Linked DNA regions of Homo sapiens: region 1 is linked to region 2. Evidence: promoter capture Hi-C in human tissues and cell types (Jung and others, 2019). All regions are on one chromosome and are shown on one strand. Each heading gives the region's core, a stretch centred on a gene start or on the middle of the fragment in contact. The rest is flanking DNA. Distances are from core to core; before and after follow the strand shown.

The links. Contacts are between HindIII fragments. The study calls those that stand out against the background at their distance.
Region 1: a contact is called between a fragment that was not itself captured here and the fragment with the promoter of CRKL in region 2, in 1 of the 25 tissues and cell types used here (mesendoderm cells).

The regions. Positions count from the first base shown.
Region 1 is chr22:21,054,015-21,059,890 of GRCh38, reverse strand. It overlaps LRRC74B (leucine rich repeat containing 74B), which reads right to left. Exons shown (of 10, transcript NM_001291006.2): 7 at 4,715-4,793; 8 at 2,691-2,786. Among named protein-coding and RNA genes, the nearest start is that of LRRC74B, 11 kb to the right of the region's middle. RefSeq lists an enhancer at 3,766-4,298. The HindIII fragment of the contact is 4,911 bases long and covers 1-4,785 here.
Region 2 is chr22:20,916,157-20,922,541 of GRCh38, reverse strand. CRKL (CRK like proto-oncogene, adaptor protein) reads right to left here and starts at 5,135. Exons shown (of 3, transcript NM_005207.4): 1 at 4,297-5,135. The coding sequence starts at 4,607. RefSeq lists an enhancer at 4,419-4,478 and a silencer at 4,769-5,218. The HindIII fragment of the contact is 23,660 bases long and covers 1-6,385 here.

The DNA of each region.
Region 1 (5,876 bases), core at 1,081-3,580, 140 kb before region 2:
AACCAAGGGGTTGTGAAGAACAGAACTGGCACTGATGGAGTCCTTCTCTGTGCAAGGCCTTTCCCTTAGGTCTGTCATCTCAGCTTATGTTCATGATGGCCTTGCGGGGTAGACGTTAGCCCCATTTCACAAAAACACAAGTCTGAGCCTAGGGAAAGATTTTCCTTGAACTATAAGTCTTCAAAACTATTTCCCTCAAAGCTCAGAATAAAATCTGGGCTAGTCAGATTATACTAGTGATAACAGATAACAACAGTTAAGGAATAGAAGATAGAATATTCAATTCAGGCTAATTGTTTTTCTTTGTTTTTTTGTTTTTTGGGTTTTTTTGAGGTAGAGTCTCGCTCTGTCACCCAGGCTGGAATGCATTGGCATGGTCTCGGCTCACTGAAACCTCCGCTTTCTGGTTCAAGCGATTCTCCTGCCTCAGCCTCCCGAGTAGCTGAGGTTACAGGTGAGCACCACCACATCCAGCTAATTTTTCTTCTATCTTTTACAACACAGAGTTTCACTCTTGTTGCTCAGGCTGGAGTGCAATGGCACGATCTCGGCTCACTGCAACCTCTGCCTCTGGGTTCTCCTGGAGGTGATTCTCCTGCCTCAGCCTCCTGAGTAGCTGGGATTACAAGTGCATACCACTATGCCCGGCTAATTTTTGTATTTTTAGTAGAGACAGGGTTTCACCATGTTGGCCAGACTGATCTCGAACTCCTGACCTCAGGTGATCTGCCTGCCTCGGCCTCCCAAAGTTCTGGGATTACAGGCATGAGCTACCAACTCCGGCCAAATTTTTGTATTATTAGTAAAGACAGGTTTTGCCATGTTGGCCAGGGTGGTCTCGAACTCCTGACCTCAGGTGATCCACCTGCCTTGGCCTCCCGAGGTCCTGGGGTTATAGGCGTGAACCATCATGCCCATCCCAGGCTTGTTATTGATTGATCGTTTATGATTCTTTGACTCAGAATCTTGTCCAGGATCTCACATTGATAGACACAGGATTTGGTCCCAACCCTGAACTGATTCCAAAGCCCATGGCATTCCCACAAGACTAGGGGCTTCTGATAATGACCATACATTGTGACAAGTAAGTGTATATTCAGGCAGGATAATGCCATATGACATTCTATTTCTTTTAGAATGACAGATCCAGTGCTGACAGGAATTCTCAGAGCAGCAGGCACATGGTTAAGGCAAGAACAGGCCATTAGAAGGAAATGGTAAGGACGTTTGACATCGGTTGTCCCAAACCTGAAGAATTGAAACTACACAGACACATTTCTGGAAAGGCTTTGACTCAAGTCTGGGTTGAAAAAAATCAGGGTTAGAATCAGCACTGATTTGTAACTCAATTTTTTTTGTTTCCTTCCCTTTTTTTTTGAGACAGAATCTGGCCCTGTTCCCCAGGTTGGAGTGCAGTGGCACAATCATAGCTCACTGAAGCCACAAACTCCTGGGATCAGGTGATCCTCCTGCTTCAGTCTTCTGAGTACCCGAAACTACGGGTATGTGCCACATGCCTGGCTAATTTTTTAAAAAGCTTTTTGTAGAGATGGGGACCTTTCTGTGTTGCCCAGGATGGTCTTGAACTCTAGGCTTCAAGGGATCCTCCCACCTCAGCCTCCCAACATGCTAAGATTATAGGTGTGAGCCATCTCACCTGGCACTTTTTCTACATTAAAAAAATCAAAATTCGCCAGGCGCAATGGATCATGCCTGTAATCCCAGCACTTGGAAGGCCGAGGTGGGTGGATCACCTGAGGTCAGGAGTTCGAGACCAGCCTGGCCAACCTGGTGAAACCCCATCTCTACTAAAAAAAATACCAAAAAAAAAAAAAAAATCAGCCGGGCGTGGTGGCACACATCTGTAATCCTGGCTACTCAGGAGGCTGAGGTAGAAGAATTGCCTGAATCTGGGAGCCGGAAGTTGCAGAGAGCCAATATAGCACCACTGCACTCCAGCCTGGGCGACAGAGTGAGACTCTGTCTCAAAAAAAAAAAAAAAATCAAAATTGACCCAAGACATGAGAGACCATGGCACAGGATCACTTGAGGTCAGAAGTTTGCAACCAGCCTGGGCAACATAGCAAGCCCCCATCTCTAAAAACTTTAGCCAGGTATGGTGACCTGTACCTGTACTTCCAGCTGCTTGGGGAGCTTAGACAGGAGAACCACTTGAGCCAAGGAATTTGAGACTGCAGTGAGCTACGATCACACCACTGCACTGCAACTGGGTGACAGAGTGAGACCCTGACTCAAAAAAAAAGTGGCAAAATTGAATGAAAAGGGATCCTAATCTCTCTCACAGCCACTCAAGTGAAGCTTCCAGCACCACAGTCCACCTGCAGACAGTCAGGGGAGGGGCAGAGGGCAGCCTTGCAGGTGCTGCGCCTGCAGATCGAAACCTCAGTGGATAGGGAGCATCATGCCCAGACCTCCACTTATCCTCTCTCAGCCAATGAAGAACCCAGGCAGGTGCCCCAGGTGAGATCCCGTGGAACCAGCAGTCTGGAGCGGGCAGAGCTGAGTGGCCCCATGCCTGCATTCAAGTCCCGTTGCAACTCTGCTTCTGCCACGCTGTGTAACTGGGCAGGGCTCTTGATTTCTGTAACCCTCACTTTCTTCTTCTAAAATTATGATACCTCACAGGGCTGCTGGGAGGATCAGAAACGAGGTTTATAAAATGCTCTTACTGAGAAATCCAGCAGTTCCAGGGCAGAGGCTGGATTGTCCTGGACAGACTTGAGGAGACCAAAGCAGCCTTCACTTCGCATGGGATTCCTGGACACCTGAGAAACACGCACACAAAGCTGCGAGAAGCCAGGTCCGGGAAGGCCAGAGAGCAATGTGAAAGGGAAGGAGGGGCTCCTCATCTCTGAGGACACAGCCACTATGGCCACACTGTTTCGGCTCAGAAGGTGTCTCCATCAGATAGTCAGACAGAATGCTCTGGTGAGGCTGCTGGGTCAGGGAAGAAAGGAAGGGAGAGGCCTCCGATTGATATAGACACACAAGACACACCCTTGCCTTTAAGAACTTGCCTGCTGGGGAGAGGGGAGGGAAAGGAAGCATCATGAAATGTGGTGTGATCAGCGCAGTGAGTGAGTGTGCACCAGCTCCCCTGGGAGGGAAAGGCTGGGAGGGGAGGTGTATCTGGGCAGGGCTCAGCGGAGCTTCCCAGGTGAGGTGGCCGGAGCTGGACACTTCAGCAAGAACAGCAGAGGAACAAAGGCAGGGGTGAAAAATAGTACCGTGTGTGTGTGTGTGTGTGTGTGTGTGTGTGTGTGTGTGTGTGTGCTCCAAGCTTGGGGTGAGAGCACTGAACTTGGAAGAGAGGGGCTGGCAGAGCCCAGATCCCCCATGACATGCTATGTTACTTTTTTTTTTTTTTTGAGACAGAGTCTTGCTCTGTCATCCAGACTGGAGTGCAGTGGTGAGATCTCAGCTCACTGCAACCTTCACCTCCTGGGTTCAAAGGATCCTCCTGCCTCAGCCTCCAGAGTAGCTGGGATTATAGGTGTGCATCACCACATCTGGCTCATCTTTTTGTTTTCAGTAGAGACAGGGTTTCACCATGTTGGTCAGTCTGGGCTCAAACTCCTGACCTCAAGCGATCTGCCTGCCTCAGCCTCCCGAAGTGCTGGGATTATTGGCGTGAGCCACCACACCTAGCTCCGCATGACATGATGCACTCAAAGCTTGGGTTTATCCAGAGGGGATAAAACTCCAACAGTTTTAAAGCAGGGCATGTTTCTGGTCCTGGGTAGCAGCTGGGAAGAAAGAACCGCAGCCAGGAATCCCGCAAGTTCACAGAAGCTAAGAGAGGAAGTCAGAAGAGGGAGGAGTCAGCAGGGTGAGCCCCTGCAGAAGGTGGGAGGGAGGGTGTGGAAAAGGGAGGGGCAGGCAGGCTCTGGGCCCCAGCTGGTGACTTGGGAAGAAGGAAGAAGGAGCCCCCCACCAGGAGGTGGCCCTTAGAGGGGGGTATGCGTTCAGGTTGGACTCTCACATTCCCACGTGTCTTTGGGACATTTAGAGGACTGTCTACGAGGTGACTCGAAACGCAGGTCTATGCTTCAGAGAGGTCCAGGTTCCTGTGAGGCAGGAAGCAGGGGAGGAGAGCTATGGGAGAAGCCCAGTAAGGCTAGGGTGGGGAGCTGAGGGCCGACAGAGCTGGATGTCCATACCCAGCTGGCAATACTGTCCCCCAGCACGTACCTGCTGTGGGCACAGTGGTCCCCTGGGGACCTGCTCCCGGCTTGCCTCCCTCCTGTGTCTGTCTTCTGCTCCCTGTCCTGCTCAGCACTCCCTCCCCACCTGCAAACCCAGGGGAAGGAACCCCAGCTGGGAACACCAGGCCTCAGGTGGGCCTGAGCAGTGGCCAACAGAACACCTGGGTGGGGCCTGGGTCTCAGCAAGGCCAGAGGAAAGGCAGGGGAGAAGATGAGGGAGACACAAGGGGTGCCCAGCCACCTTCAGCAGAGCAGCACCCCAGCCCACAGAGGAGGAAGGGCAGCAAGAAGATGTGGGAGAGAGGCTGGGAGGGATGAAGGGGAGAAGAGGAGGGCCAGGCCCCAGATTCAGGGTGAGTGGCAAGGGAGTGAGCCAGCCTGTGTGCACCTGCCTGCTGCCCCTGGGTGGGGGCTGTGGGGGAGGGATCTGTGTGGACTGTTACAGGGCAGGTCTGTGCTGGTGTCTCAGTCATCAGGCTAGCACTCACTACAAGAATCCTCAGCGTCTGGTTGACCCGGAGGCCCAGGCCCAGGCTCAGGGCTCCCATCGCAGAGATGCGGTTGTTACTGCAACAAAAACAACAGGCACATGCATTGTGCAACCTTCCAAGCAGCGGTGCAGAGCCCACTGCCCCAGGGTGCCCACTGGAGCTGCCATTGCAGCCACCAGGTTGGGTCTCTTGTTCCCTCCACTCACACCCCAGGAACCCTGGACAGATCAACAGGTAAAAGGTGGAGATGACACCGTTCAGAGGAATCACACGGCAAACACACCTAAAGCGTCCCTGTCCTGGTGGACACCAGCTGCCGCTCCTCTGAGCTCTGCAAGTGCTCCCACATATTCTGCCCCAGCTGACACCTCATGCCTATCACCATTACAACGCCTGTTCCAGAAAATCACCTAGCTTATGTTCAAGGCCTCTCCTCCTCCTGCCGTTCCCAAACTCCAGTCCTCAGCACCGCCCTGGACCACTTTGTCTCCGGAGTCAGTCCCGCTTCTCTCTGACTTCTCAGACCCCAGCTCTGGCTGCACCTCCGTATTCAGCCTCCGCGGCTGCCTCCAGTCTTAGCTCCTCCCATGGGGAGGAAAGCTGGGCAGGATTGAGTGGGGCCTTCTTGCCCACAGGGAGCTGCCCCTGGGGAGGGTCTCAGCCACAGCAGCCCATGACCTCCCTGGCCTCTGGCCCGTGACCTCCCTGGCATCCGCCTCTTTTCTTCCCTCTGGGCTTGTGCCTCCTGGCTAGGCTGGGACGCTGCCTGGCCTGGAGGAGCCCCTCACACAGGGCATGCTCCAGTAGCCACATGCTGAGCAAAACAGGCACTGGGGCCCACTTGTCAGGGTCCTGCCTTGCCCCACCCAGACTAGGCTCGTTTTACTCGCTCTGTTGCAATGCAGCCTGAAATCCTGAATCCTCGGCTCAAGCAATCTTCCTGCCTCAGCCTCCCAAGTACCAGGAATGATAGGTGTATGCCACCGGAAATGGACAATTTTTAGATTTCGCATAGAGATGGAGTCATGCTATATTGCCTAGCCTGGTCTCAAAATCCTGTCCTTAATGGATCCTCCCGCCTCAGCCTTCCTAGGTGCTAAGATTACAGTTGTGAGCCACAGAACCTGGCCCTGGCTCGTCTTCTGCAAGGGAGGAAAGC
Region 2 (6,385 bases), core at 3,886-6,385:
TATCTCCAAAATAGGCATCTCCAAGTCACAGCTCCACTGTCACTATTAGTCACCATCATTTTGTAGCTGGATTACAATAACAGCCCCAGGTCACTCCTCTGCCTCAAATTCCTTCCTTGGAGCCCACAGCACTTTAAATAAAAACCCAATTCCTGACCCTGATCTTTATCTCCAAACTCATTTTATATGTCCCCCTTTCTCCTTTAAGAAACACACTCCCAGGCCGGAGAGGGTGGCTCACATCTGTAATCCCAGCACTTTGGGAGGCTGAGGCAGGTGGATCATGAGGTCAAGATATAGGGACCATCCTGGCCAACATGGTGAAACCTTGTCTCTACTAAAAATACAAAAATTAGCCGGACATGGTGGCGGGTGCCTGTAGTCCCATGCAGTCCCAGCTACTCAGGAGGCTGAGGTAGGAGAATCACTTGAACCTGGGAGGCAGAGGTTGCAGTGAGCCGAGATTGGGCCACTGCACTCTAGCCTGGCCACAGAGTGAGACGTCATCTACCAAAAAAAAAAAAAAAAAAAAAAAGCCGGGCGCAGTGGCTCACACTTGTAATTCCAGCACTTTGGGAGGCCGAGGCGGGCGGATCACTAGGTTAGGAGATCGAGACTATCCTGGCTAACATGGTGAAACCCCGTCTCCACTAAAAATACAAAAAATTTGCCCGGCATGGTTGCAGGCGCCTGTAGTCCCAGCTACTCGGGAGGCTGAGGCAGGAGAATGGTGTGAACCCAGGAGGCGGAGCTTGCAGTGAGCCGAGATCGCACACTCCAGCCTGGGCGACAGAGCAAGACTCCGTCTCAAGAAAAAAAAAAAGAAAAAAGAAAGAAAGAAAAGAAACACACTCCCAACACAATGGACTTTCTCACCTCAGGACATCTACATAAGCTTTTCCCTAAACTTGGAAGGCTCTTCTCCTCCTCTCAGGCCAAGCCTTGCCTAGGCTGGGTTCTTCTTTACCCTCAGGTCTTAGCTTCATGCTTTCTCTGACCACGCCACCCCAGGTAGGTCCCTCCTGTATATTGATCTTACTAGTACTTTATTTTTCTACTTTTCAGTCTGTCTTCTCCACTACAGTAGGAGTTCCACAGGAAGAAAGTATGTCTGTCACACATCTTTCCCAGTACCTACACTGGGTTACACTGGGTTATAATTCTCTTATAAACATTTGAATAAAAATATAAAATTAAAAATTATGAAGCATTCTAATGAAAAGGATAAGACTATAACAATGCAAGCCACCAGTCCTTAAATTTCGAGTAGGACATTATTGTTACAAATTTTAGCTATGCAAGATAAACCAAAATATTAGCCAAGAGGCATGAAACTCTGGCTTTAAAAGCTCAGTTTTGATGCCTGCAAAGTTAAGCCACTAAATGTACCCTGTTTGGGATGCGAAGAAGCATTACACTGAGTTTTCCGTTTGGCCCAGGCTCTAGTAGTCACTAGCTTTCTATAAAAGGCTAATAACATGTTAAACCTAAGCCATGAAAACCAGGCTTGGGAGTGGCAATTCGAAGATTCAGTATAACAAAGTAAACTCAGTCAGGATCTAATTCAACCAGCATGGTGATCTCCTTCAGAGATACCTAGGAAAATGAAAAACTAAATTAAAGCAACAGGCCTGAGGCAGAGGGCACAGAGAAGGAGAAACAAAGCTGAACGTGAGGGGTAGGGTCAGAGAAAGGCCCTATAATCTGTGAGGGGACTGGAACAACAGGTAGGATTTCAACAGATGGAGAGTGAGGTGTAGTTAAGGCAGTCAGTGAAGAGCCAACAGCTGGAGCAAAGGTGCAAAGGTACAAAGGTATGAGTAAGGAAGGATGGCTACCAGGGAATAAGTGAGCAGCCTAGTACAGCTGCAGTAAAGGAAGGACGAAAGAGGGCAAAGACAGAATTACATGCTTGTTCTCTAAGAAGATGCATGCATGTACGGAAAATCTGGAGGCGATTCTGTGGATAGAGAGAAGCGGCATACTTCTTTTCCTTCCTCTAGAAGGAGACTCAAGTCATTAACTTTTTCCTTTTTTTTTTTTGAGACAGAGTCTCACTCTGTCACCCGGGCTGTGCAGTGGCGCGATCTCGGCTCACTGCAACCTCCGCCTCCCGGGTTCGAGCGATTCTCCTGCCTCAGCCTCCCGAGTAGCTGGGATTACAGGCACCCACCACTACGCCCAGCTAATTTTTTGTATTTTTAGCAGAGACGGGGTTTCACCATGTTGGCCAAGATGGTCTTGAACTCCTGACCTCGTGATTCGCCCGGCTTGGCTTCCCAAAGTGCTGGGATTACTGGCGTGAGCTACCACACCCGCCCATTAACTTGCTTTTTGAAACAGCTGTATTATTAGTACTCATGACCTCAACATAAGCATATGCATGGCTTAATGAATGCCTGGTATTAATTATATAATTCACGCTCACAAACGAGAGGAAGAATTTATTCAGTCATATTACAAATCTCACTACAGTGGGTTCTAAGATTCTCAACTCCTTAAATTGGAATTATATTGTGCTCAAAGTTGACTGCAACTACCAGCATCTGCCAGGAACCGCAGGTTTCACCAATCAGATTCTTGGTGTCCTGGTCTTTGTTATACAGTATTTGATTTATAATCACTTTCTCCCCACTTTTAAAGTCCATTTAGTTCAGTAGTTAATCTTGTAGTCATTATACTGTCATGGCTTTTTTTTTTCTATCTCTATCCCACTATGCAAACAGTTGGTGTCCTCAATTATAATAGCTTTTAATGTTTAAAGTTTAGAGTAATACCCGGTCGACAAATCCATAAAGTCATAAACATCTAACCCTGGAAAAACTGTATCAACACCCAGTCCTTTTAAAATAGATGTTTAAGAAACGAACTGGCCAGTTTGTTACTTTAAAAATTCTAGGCAACTTTTCAACTCAAATTTGGGATAATTTAAATAAAAGAAACCTCTGATAAAATCAGTGTTACAGGGCAAACACAACAATAAAAGCAAATCTCTGCTAAAACGCTTAAGGCAAATTAAAGCAACTAATCAATTAAAATAACGTATTTCACTTGGAAAAGAGAATGCTTGGTCACTTTGCGTTAATTTTAAAATAAGAAATACAAAATCATTAGACTTAACACAAAAAGCATGTCTGAAATTGAACTAGGATACAACTAAGTGTCATTCAAAAATTTTCCTTAATAACATTCTAGCCTAATTCCACCTTGGAAATTAACCAGACTGATCTCTGGCCTACTAATGGTCCTCGGGGAGAAAATATGCAATAAATTTTCCAAAAAATATCCTCGCTGAAGCCAATGCACCTTCTCTTATCTTTGTAATTAACGTACTATAAAAGTGGTGGTGTCTGGCCTGCTTCAAACTTGGCACCACAGTATCAATATACAGTTCTGATATTTTGGTTAAAGGTTTTTTTGTTTCTAAACGCTAAAGCATTTTCATTTTTTTGACTGTTCCAAAGGCTGCAGTCCTGGAGTTCTTAACCTGGAGTTCAGAGATCTGGAGGGAGTACAAGCACCCGGGATGGTGTGCAAACTTGTGTGTACGTGCCTTTGGCGGGGAGGGGTGGGGGTGGGGGTGGGGGTGGGGTGGTGAGTGCTCGGCTATCTTCAGATTCTCAAAGAAGTCTATGGCTTAAAAACGGTTTTTGGCCGGGTGTGGTGGCTCACGCCTGTAATCCCAGCATTTTGGGAGACCGAGGCAGGCGGATCACGAGGGCAAGAGATCGAGACCATCCAGGCCAACATGGTGAAACACCGTCTCTACTAAAAATACAAAAATTAGCTGGGTGTGGTGGCGTGAGCCAGTAGTCCCAGCTACTCGGGAGGCTAAGGCAGGAGAATCGCTTGAACCCGGGAGGCGGAGGTTGCAGTGAGCCGAGATCGCACCACTGCACTCCAGCCTGGCGACACAGCGAGACTCCGTCTCAAAAAAAAAAAAAAAAAAGAGGTTTTTAGAAAAACCAACAAATCCCTGCATCAGTATTACACCCAGAGAAAGTCACGAAAGGCAAAAAGCGTGCATTTTAACTATGCAACCACCGTTAAACATTCAAAACGCATCCTCTTCACATTGAGAAACAGCCTCGTGAGAGGGAAAAAAAAAAAACGCATCCTCTTATCCAGTGACCCAGATCCTGACACTAGCTTTCTGTTAGGAAGGCCTTCTGGAAAATAATTTGGTTCAGAATGCGGGGAATATGGGTTCAAGCGCGCCCCACCCCCCTATACAAGCACTCTTCGACAGACCCGGTTCTCGACCTTCCTCCGCGGTCGGGGAGGGCTCTCGCGTACCTGGGCGCAGGCTCGATGAGGGTGGTGGTGTCCAGGTAGTGGATCTTGTAAAACTCCAGCAGGGCCGGCAAATGGTCAAATTCCTGGTCCCCGATCTTAAAACGGCGGTTGGGCAGCGAGTTGATGATGTAGTGGGAGACCCGCGAGTTCTCGGACACCGACAGCACATAGTCCCCAGGGCAGGTGGAAGAATCGCGGACGAGGAACATACCGTGGCGCTGGCCCTGGAGCCGGGTCTGCGCCTCCTGGCGAGACACCGGCCCCATATACCAGGCGGAGCGGTCCGAGGAGTCGAACCTGGCGGAGGACATGGTGTTGGACCGGGGACTCTGCGGCGGTAGGGGCGGCGGCTGTCCTCGCCTGCTCTGCACGCCTTAGCCCGGCAGACGGCTTTGGGGCCGAGGAAGGGCCTCTCGCACACCTCGAGGAGCGCTCAGAGGGCTGGGCCAGCACTTTCCTCTCGGCTCCGGGCCCGCAGCATCCTCCGACGCCGCCCGCCTGCTCCGGGGCCGCCACACGGAGAGAGCCGCCCGGGAATGCACGGCAGAGCCGGGGGGTCGGGGCAGGCAAACCCGAGCCGCAGCGGAGGCCACCCCGGGGTTCTCGGGCTGCTCGGCGTCCCAGGGGTGCCTCCAGTGACTCCCGGCCTGGAACGCGCCGGCGCCGCAGCTCGACGGGTCTTCACCGACCCCCGCCGTCACACGAGGCACCGAACTCGAAGGAGCGTCGCGCCTCCGGGGTGCTTTTGCCCAGCTTGTTCCCAATAGCCACAGCAACAAAATGGCGGACGCGGGAGAAGCGGCAGCCACCTCCCCCTCCGCTCAGCGCGCTCCGTCTGCGCACGCGCTGGGCCCCGGCTCCCGGCGGCCGCCGGGGCCCTCCCGTTACGTCACACAGCGCAGCCAATCAGGAGCACCGTCGCGACGATCAGGGTGGGCGCTGGTCGCGCCCGCTCCCGCGTTCCAGGAGGAGGCTGAAGAGGCGCCGGCGGTAGGCACTCTCTTCCTGGGCCGCTGCGCGCCGCTGGGGGCGCTGCGGCTGCCGGGTCTCCCAGCGCTGGCAGGAAAACAGCTGGAGCCGAGAGGGAACCGCGTTTCGAAAACCTGCTTCTGGGAACAAAGCGTAACGTGCAGGCTGAATCGCGGGCCAGGGAGGCGTGGCACTGAGGCGACCTGGCCAGCCTAGGGGCCTGAGGGAGGTCAAGGACTGACAGGTCCCGATGGGCCGAGGTGGCCCAGTAAAAGGATGAGCCCAGGGGCAGATGTGACCACCAGATAGGTGACTGACTGAATGACTCAGTCCCCAGGTGGCCTGATAGGCTAAGGAAGCCCTAGTGGCTACGTGACCCGCTAAATGGAGTGAGAGGAGAGAGAAGGTGAGGGTTAGATTGACTCAATTAAGTGGTCAAGGAAGTCCACAAGTGGGTAACCTGGCTATCATGGGCTCTGAACTGCTGAAAGTAAAATACAAATGCCTCTCGGGCGTGGCCCCGAGGCTTCCCCTGCCCCGGATTATGCCTGCTTCTGCCTATTTATTAATCCCTATTTGTTTTTGTTTGTTTTCTTTCTTTCTTTCTTTCTTTCTTTCTTTCTTTCTTTCTTTCTTTCTTTTCTTTTTTCTTTTCTTTTCTTTCTCTCTCTCTCTCTCTTCCTTTCCTTTCCCTTTCCCTTTCCTTTCCCTTTCCCTTTCCTTTCCTTCTTTCGACGGAGTCTCGCTCTGTCACCAGGTTGGAGTGCAGGGGCGCGATCTCGGCTCACTGCAACCTCCGCCTCCCGGGTTCAAGCGATTCTCCTGCCTCAGCCTCCCGAGTAGCTGGGATTACAGCTGTCCGCCGCCATGCCCTGCTAATTTTTGTATTTTTAGTAGAAACGGGGTTTCACCATGTTGGCCAGGCTGGTCTCAAACTCCTGACCTCAGGTGATCTGCCTGCCTCAGCTTCCCAAAGTGCTAGGATTACAGGCGTGAGCCACCGTGCCCAGCCTGTTTGTTTTATTTTGTTTGTTTTTGAGACAGGTTCTCCTTCTGTCACCCAGGCTGGAGTGCAGTGGAACTATCATGGCTCACTGCAGCCTTGATTTCCCCATCTCAA